2 separate regions of the Homo sapiens genome follow, and region 1 is linked to region 2. The links are contacts of gene promoters, found by promoter capture Hi-C in blood cells and fetal thymus (Javierre and others, 2016). All regions are on one chromosome and are shown on one strand. Each heading gives the region's core, a stretch centred on a gene start or on the middle of the fragment in contact. The rest is flanking DNA. Distances are from core to core; before and after follow the strand shown.

Region 1 (3,933 bases), core at 1,137-3,636, 260 kb before region 2:
CTTCTCAGGGAGAGCTCCTGTTTTCAAAGTCTGGCAAATTTATCAGTTTGATTTTTCTTAAACATTTATATTTTTATGGAGTAGAAAATCTACCAAACGAGTAAAGAATGTTTCCGCCTGGTTTCAAACCGGGGACCTTTCGCGTGTGAGGCGAACGTGATAACCACTCCACTACGGAAACAACTGTGGGAAAGGGTTACCCACATCCCCCCCGCCCCCATCCCCACCCCGCCGCTTAACTAAGAGGGCTTTGCCTGAAGGGCCTGGACTGCCTTATACGTCTGTTTAGAAAATGATCGTTGTGGTGCAGTTCTCTCCTTTTACTGTTTTCGAAAAGAAAAGCAATTCATAACCAAGCTTCCCCAGGGCTCCAATTCCCGCACAAATTTCAAACATGGAAAGCTAGAACGGAATGCTACAGAATTTTATTTCAAGACCTCCCTATGCTGTCTATGCACGTTTCTTTATCTGCAAAACCCGCCCCGATAGTCATATCTTGGTGACTTTTGGGAAAACCATGAAGGAGCGACCTGAGACCAGGAGATGATTGGAGGCCATCAGCACTTTCTGCCATAGCTGCTCTCATCATTTTGTTTGCAGTCAAATAACTAGAAGTAGTCATGGCTTCTGGGAAATATAGGGAAGCAGATGAAACATGCAAAGAACACCACCAACTCTGCTACAGAAAGCAAATGCAAAAAGATACAGTCTTTGCCCCCAAGGAAATCAGAGTCTAGTAATGTCTTCCTTATAAGATCATGATGATATATTTTTTCTATTGTCTTATTGCCCAAAGGTATAGCCATTGAAGACAAGAATCAAAACAAGATTATAGTTCATCTAACTTTTGAATCTTATGCTCTTTCTAGCACAATTGTACTGGACACATTATATTAAGGCAAAATATTTTAAGTCATCTTGGACTTGTAGCCTCTACAACTGTGAGAAAAGTAATTTTTGTTCAATCCACTCAGTCTGTGGTATCTTATGGCAGCTCAAGTTTACTAATACAGGTGTGTTTACTATAATGAGTACAAGCAGTAATCAGAATAGTCTGACTCAGAGATCTTTGACATTGATGACTATACTATATAACATCCCTAGAATTAAAATAAGTATGCAACTTATTAATATCTTACTTGATCTATATAAGCAGAAAAGTCTAGTAGATAGAAGTCTGACCTGAATCAGCAAAACAGAGAATCATGGCCTCCCAACCAATTCCCAGATATGAGCCAGCTTTGACTGAGGAGAAGGTAAGCTTCTCTTGAGAAAGAATACTCATAGCTTAGTACAAATTTATACTGTTATTCTTCCTCCCTTCTCTAAAGGGGCCTGTATCCATTTACCAGAGTGACTGTGCTTTGGGAAAGGGGAAATAGGCAGACTTTTCAGGAATTACTAAACAAAGATCCTGAACTGACATTAATTCCTAGAGATACTAAGCATCACTATTGTCCACCTGGCAAATTAGGGACTCAGAGAGGTCAGACATTCAATGAAATTTTGCCTCTGGTGCATTTCACTATAGGCACAGCAGATCCCTGAACCTACTCTGTAGTTATTTTCCCAATTCCAAACAGAATATTTATATTGTTTCTATGAGTGATAGAGTGCAGGCTATTATGGTATAAAAGGCCAAGGGGAAGCCACTGGAAATTCCTCTACCTATGAAAATTATAAACCGAAAGGAATATTGTACTCCTGGAGGGATTGCAGAAAGGATGGCACCATCAAGGACTTGAAAGATGCAGGGCTGGTGGTTCTTAGCATATCTCTATTCAACTCATTATTCAACTGCGGAAGACAAATGGATTATGGAGAATGATGGTGAATTATTGAAAATTTAGTCAGGTAAATATTCCAATTGCATCTGCTATTCCAGATGTGGTTTCATTAATGGAAATATTAACACATCTCCTGGTACCTGCTATGCTGTTATTGATATGGTTAGTTCTTTTTTCTCTATACTTAATCATTAAGACCATCAGAAGCAGTGGTCTTTTAGCTGGCAAGGCCAGCAGTACACCTTATCTGCCCTACTGTTGCAGGACTTTTCCTTAGTTCAGCTAAAGATGGGGTTCTTTGTCCCACAGCCATGAAAATTCAGGCTTGCAGACAATTTGGTGAGTAAGACAGGGTTTTATTGGGTGAAAAGGGAAAAAGGGGGAAACAGGGACTCTCGCAAGGCCAGAGTCCCTCCACTAGAGCGCTTCTACTTCCTGCCCAGCAGTTGGAATCCCAGGTTCCACATAGGAAGAGGAAGGGCCAGGATCCTCCCAGCTGCAAACATCATGAACTTCCTGAGGCTCCACCTCAGTGGGTAGGCTGGTTGGAATCCAGGGACCCCCTCCCACCTGGCTGTCTCACTACCTTGGGGATATATTGAGTCTCTAACCCTGTGTCACCAACTAGTCCACAGGGAGTTTTATCACCTTACCATTCCATAGAACATCATACTGGTCTCTTACATTAATTATATTTTTAGTGACAAGAAGGTAGCAACTACTCTATAACATTGGTAAGACATTTGTATGCCAGACGGTGGGAAATAAACCTCACAAAGAATCAGAGCCTTACTACCTCAGTGAAATTTCTAGGTGTCCAATTGTCTGCAACATTATGAGTTGCTGCATCTGATACCTTTTCTTATTAAGAAAGCGGTGGCCGGGCGCGGTGGCTCACGCCTCTAATCCCAGCACTTTGGGAGGTCGAGGCGGGCGGATCACGAGGTCAGGAGATCGAGACCATCCTGGCTAACACAGTGAAACCCCGTCACTAATAATAAAAAAAAAAATACAAAAAATTCGCCGGGCGTGGCGGGCCCCTGTAGTCCCAGCTACTCGGGAGGCTGAGCCAGGAGAATGGCGTGAACCCGGGAGGCGGAGCTTGCATTGAGCCGAGATCGTGCCACTGCACTCCAGCCTGGGCGACAGACTCCGTCTCAAAAAAAAAAAAAAAAAAGAAAGAAAGAAAGTGGTACAATACTGAGTAGAACATACTGAGTAGAACTCTTTGGATTTGGGAGGCAACATTTGGGCACGCTACACCAAACCATTTATCAAGTAACCTGAAAATATCCCAGTTTTGAGTGGGGGCCTAGAACAGGAAATGGTTCTGCAACAGGACCACGTTGCAGCTCAAGCGACTCTGCCACTGGGACCATAAGAACCAGAAGAATTGATCTTTCTTCAAGTGTCAGAGAAGAGGGATGTTATCTGGAGGCTTTGGCAAATTTCTACAGGTGAATCACGGCACAGAACTTTAGAATTTCAGAGCAAAGTTTTGCCATCCTCTGTGGGTAACTACTCTTCTTTAGACAAGTAGCTTTTACCAGCTTTTTTTTTTTTTAACCAGGTTCTTAGTACAGTCTGAATGCTTGACCACATACCACCACATTACCATATGGCCTCAGATGCAGATCTTGAACTGGATAGTGTGTGTTACCAAGCCATAAATTTAGACATGCACAGCAGCGTTCCATTATCAAATGGAAATGGGATGTATTAAATAAAGCTTGAGCAGCTCCTAAAGGCACAAGTAGGTTGCATGAGGAAGTGGCACAGCTGTTTATGGCATCTACTCTTGCTATATTGCCTTCTGTTTATTTGTGTGTGTGTGTGTGTACATCTACATCTATGGCCTCATAAGAGTTCTAAATGACCAGTTGACTGAAGAAGAAAAAACTCAAGAATGGTTTATAGATGTTCTGTATGTTCTGTACAATATGCAGGCACCACTTGAAAGTAAACAGCTGCAGCCCCACAGCCCCACATACAAATAAACAAGAGAGGCTAGCAGTGAGAATTACAGCATGCAGGGCCCTATGCGTATGTGTTTTTGATGCATAAATAGTAACCATTTAGAGGGCTGTGATGGCCGAGTGGTTAAGGCGTTGGACTCGAAATCCAATGGGGTCTCCCCGCGCAGGTT
Region 2 (4,189 bases), core at 812-3,311:
CAAAAAAAGGACTGCATGATAATAGTTAGGTCAAACCAAACTTGATTGCACAGCCATACCTAAAGAATGTAAAGACAACACCAATGCAGAGAGAACTCCATAGGGACATGTCATAAGCCTCTATCCTTACCCTGATCTGTTCAATGACAGGTAGGAAGAAATAGAAGGAATATTCATCAAATCCGCTAGTGGCATTAAGTTAGAAAGGACAGTTAAGGCACTGAATAACTAAATTAGGATTCATAATCATTCTGAAAGCCTAAAACATGTGACCAAAAAATTGAACAGTCATAAATGTAAGTCATGACATTAAGGATAATAATAATTCCATTACACAAAAATGGTGTAAATCTAGATCACTGCAGTTTATGTAAAAAAGATCTAAAGTTTACAGTACATCACTGATAGTTTTTAAAGCAAATGTGATCTAATGCCAAACAGCGGAAGTATAATCCGAGTCAAAGGAAGTAGTACATTATCCTCTCAGGTACTTTTCAAAGCACATCCAAAGAGCTATGTTTACCATTAGGCACTGCATTTTAAGAAAAATGCTGACAAGCAGGAGAGTTTTCAGAGAAAGGTCTAGATACATCACATAGACCAATCAAAAGAAGTGAGGCTATATTGCTTAGAAAAGAATTTATGAGGAGGAGTTGTAACAGCTGAATTCACATATCTTAAGGGCAGCAGTGTGAAAGAAAGAACAGACAGTTTCCTTTTCTTTGGAGGACTAAGAACTAAGATCAACACAAAAGTTACAGGGACAAGTACATCTGTTTAATATAAGAAACTAAAAAAGAAAGCCAACAAGGGAATAGTCTGCACCCAAAATGGCGAGTTTAATGCCACACTAGTTCGGGCATAGGGTTGACAGACAGCCGTCTGCCAAGGAGATTTCAAAACTGACTCTTTCATTGAAGGGATAATTGCCAAGATGTCTTCTGACTTCAAGATTATAATTTTAATATTTAATATTCAGAAGTCATGTGGGGATCACAGATATTCTGAATGATTATGTCTTTTCATTCCCCAATGGAACGAAAGAAAAAAATAAACTCCTCTCCCAAGTATCTCTCTATAAAACAGAATCTCTCCCTACAATGTAATTCGGTTTCTTTGCTAATCCCTAAGCATACCGTTCCTTCCTTCCAAATCTCCTGCTCTGATCTCAAGTATTTGATACTCCAGTCATGACTGTTCTCAAGCCTCCATCACCCCGCTCTCCCCCAAGTCGACCCCACTACCTTCCATCTCAGGAGCTCATCCCGTTCCTCTGGAACTTGAACACCAGGGTTCGCCAGGCAGCGTTCCTTCAGCTGGTATCTCGGTCTAGGACTCAGATGTCTAACTCCCCTTGCAGGGAATCTGCAACACGCTGAGGTTGTCTACCCTAAAAGACACAGGATGGCGTCAGCAGCATACGTCACACAATCACACATCAGAGTCTTGCAAAGTGACCAAGAGGTGCTACACAAGAGAAGTGCCCCAAGAGAGCACTAGAGAGGTGTGTGGCACTCCGATGAACAAAACAGAGTGGAGATCGGGTACGCGGGTTCTGCTTCAGATCCAAAAAACCCTTGGTGCCCACCCTAGAATCTGGCCGGGGCATCCACAGACCTGGTGTGTTCCCTCTGTGCACACTTGTGACTCACACCCCTGCGAGCTCGGATAACACGAAGACACACCTGTTGCAGAGCGTTAAAGCTGGAAGGTGGACAAACAGGGCGGGGCCCGGCACCCGACTTCCCCTTAGGCCAGAACAAAAGAACAAAGCCCTCCAAGGGATCAGGGCGGGACCGCCCCGCACAGAAGGAGGCGAGGTGCGCCCCCTTCGAGGACTCCCCAGCTTTCTCCTGCAGAGGCCTCTAAGCGCGAAATCAGAAGGGTGACGTCACGAGTCCGGAGGGCTGGCTGTTGCCATGGTGATACCTGAGCTCCCCTCCCCCTATAGCGATCCACACACTCTGATCCCGGGTCCGGAAGCGCATTGACCGCCACCAGACCTAACGCAGGGAGCCGAAGCAACTGGACTTCCAGCGCGCCAACCTCTTTCCACGCCTACAACCGGCTTCAACGGTCACTTCCGGTCGTTACGAGCGAGCCCCGCCCCGCACGCCGGCGCCGGGCGGGCACACTGGACCAGCGTTCCCAGAACACTCCGCGAAGGTGTTCCTGAACTTCATTTCCCAGAGGCTTTAGCTAACGTGTACTTTCGCCCTGCGATGGGCCGCACATTTTCGCCGCCAGTCTTTTGCTCCTGTTTCAGGTATGCGTGTGCATTGTAAACTTGTCTGACTGAACTGATTATAAGAAATGCACGTCTACTGACCGAGCGCAGTGGCTCACGTCTGTAATCTGAGCACTTTGGGAGGCCGAGGTGGGTGGATCACTAGGTCAGGAGTTCGAGACTCAGCCTGGCCAATATGGTGACACCCCGTCTCTACTAAAAATACAAAAATTAGCCGGGCGTGGTGGCGCGCGCCTGTAGCTACTCAGGAGGCAGAGGCAGAAGAATCGCTTGAACCCGGGAGGAAGAGGTTGCAGTCAGCCGAGATCGCGCCACTGCACTCCAGCCTGGGCGGCAGAGCGAGACTCCGTCTCAAAAAAACAAAACAACAAAAAAAAAAAAAAGAAAGAAAGAAAAGAAAAAAAAGAAATACACGTCTACACACAGTTTTAAAACGCAAACAATCGTTACCTTTATTACATGTTCTACCTTCTATTTTCTGTTCTACTCTTTTGTCGTTTTGAAAATACTGGTAGTTACCCATTAAAATTGTTTTCACGACTCTCAAATGAGTGGCGACCAACTTTTTTTTTTTTTTTTTTTTTTTTGAGACGGAATCTAGCTCTGTTGCTCAGGCTGGAGTGCAATGGCGCGATCTCGGCTCGCTGCAACCTCCACCTCCCGGGTTCAAGCGATTCTCCTGCCTCAGCCTCCCGAGTAGCTGGGATTACAGGCATGCACCACCATCCCCGGCTAATTTTTGTATTTTTAGTAGAGACGAGGGGGTCACCATGTTGGCCAGGCTGGTCTCGAACTCCTGACCTCAAGTGATCCGCCCGCCTCGGCCTCCCAAAGTGCTGGGATTGCAGGCGTGAGCCACTGCGCCCGGCCCCAACATGTTTTTCTAATGCTTAAGGAAACCCGGAGATAATATTCCCATGTTTTGCCACTTAGTAAAGCATTTTATATGCCTGTGTCAGCGAGCACATAGCTGCAAGTGTAGCCCATGGCCAGTCTGTCACTGTGTCCTTGGCAGAAAAAAAGAATCCAACAAATCGGTAGGTTTTTATATTTAAGACATGGCACTTGCATTTTATTATGCTGGCGTGCATCCCCAGCATTTGGATAAGGGGCCAAGGTCAAGTCTCTCAGACTGTTGGCTGACAAACATTAAACCTGGAAATCCTAACAGAGTGTATGAAAAACAATTACAGTCAAGGGAACATGATAGAGAAAGCTTCGGTCATCTTAGAGAATGCATATATTGCCATGAAGAGAACATTGGTTTAAAAAAAAATGTTCAAGAGAATGAAAAGACAAGTCACAGACTGGGAGAAAATACTTGCAAAGTACATATCTGATAAAGAACTGATATCCAAAATATATAAGAACTCTTAAAACTCAACAATAAGGAGACAAACCGATTAAAAAAATAGGCCAAAGACCCTAACAGATGTCACCAAAGAAGATATGCAGATGGAAAATAAGCATATGAAAAGATGCTCCACATATGTCCTCAGTGAAATGCAAATTAAAACAATGGGATGCCACTATACACCTGTCAAAATGGCCAAAATCCAGAACCCTGACAATACCAAATGCTGACAAGGATGTGGAGCACAGGAACTTTCATTCATTGCTGGTGGGAATGCAAAATATTAGAGTTACGTTGGAGGACAGTTTGACAATTTCTTACAAAACTAAACATACTCTTACCATATGATCTAGTAATTGTGTTCCTTGGTATTTATGCAAAGGAGTTGAAAATGTATGTCCACACAAAACGTGCCCAAGAATGTTTATAGCAGCTTTGTTCATGATAGGCAAAACTTGGAAGCAGCCAGATGTCCTTCAGTACATGAATGAATACATAAACTATGGTACATTCAGACAATGGAACATTCAGTAAGGAAAAGAAATGAGCTATCAAGCTACCAAAAAGGAAGAACAGAAGAATATTAA

Evidence for each region. The method cuts DNA at HindIII sites, captures the fragments that hold promoters and counts their contacts. A CHiCAGO score of 5 or more calls a contact.
Region 1: a fragment that was not itself captured here is called in contact with the fragment with the promoter of ZNF184 in region 2 in 1 of 17 cell types (megakaryocytes); the score reaches 10.1 in megakaryocytes.

Annotation. Positions count from the first base shown.
Region 1 is chr6:27,205,980-27,209,912 of GRCh38, forward strand. It overlaps TRV-CAC6-1 (tRNA-Val (anticodon CAC) 6-1), which reads right to left and starts at 181; the gene lies at 109-181. TRS-CGA2-1 (tRNA-Ser (anticodon CGA) 2-1) reads left to right here and starts at 3,870; the gene lies at 3,870-3,933. The HindIII fragment of the contact is 2,255 bases long and covers 1,260-3,514 here.
Region 2 is chr6:27,471,044-27,475,232 of GRCh38, forward strand. ZNF184 (zinc finger protein 184) reads right to left here and starts at 2,062. Exons shown (of 6, transcript NM_001318891.2): 1 at 1,686-2,062; 2 at 1,245-1,390. The coding sequence starts at 1,251. LOC105375001 (a long non-coding RNA gene) reads left to right here and starts at 2,081. Exons shown (of 2, transcript XR_926664.4): 1 at 2,081-2,266; 2 at 4,051-4,189. RefSeq lists enhancers at 1,184-1,313, 1,644-1,733, 1,754-1,853, 1,914-2,073. The HindIII fragment of the contact is 5,482 bases long and covers 1-3,462 here.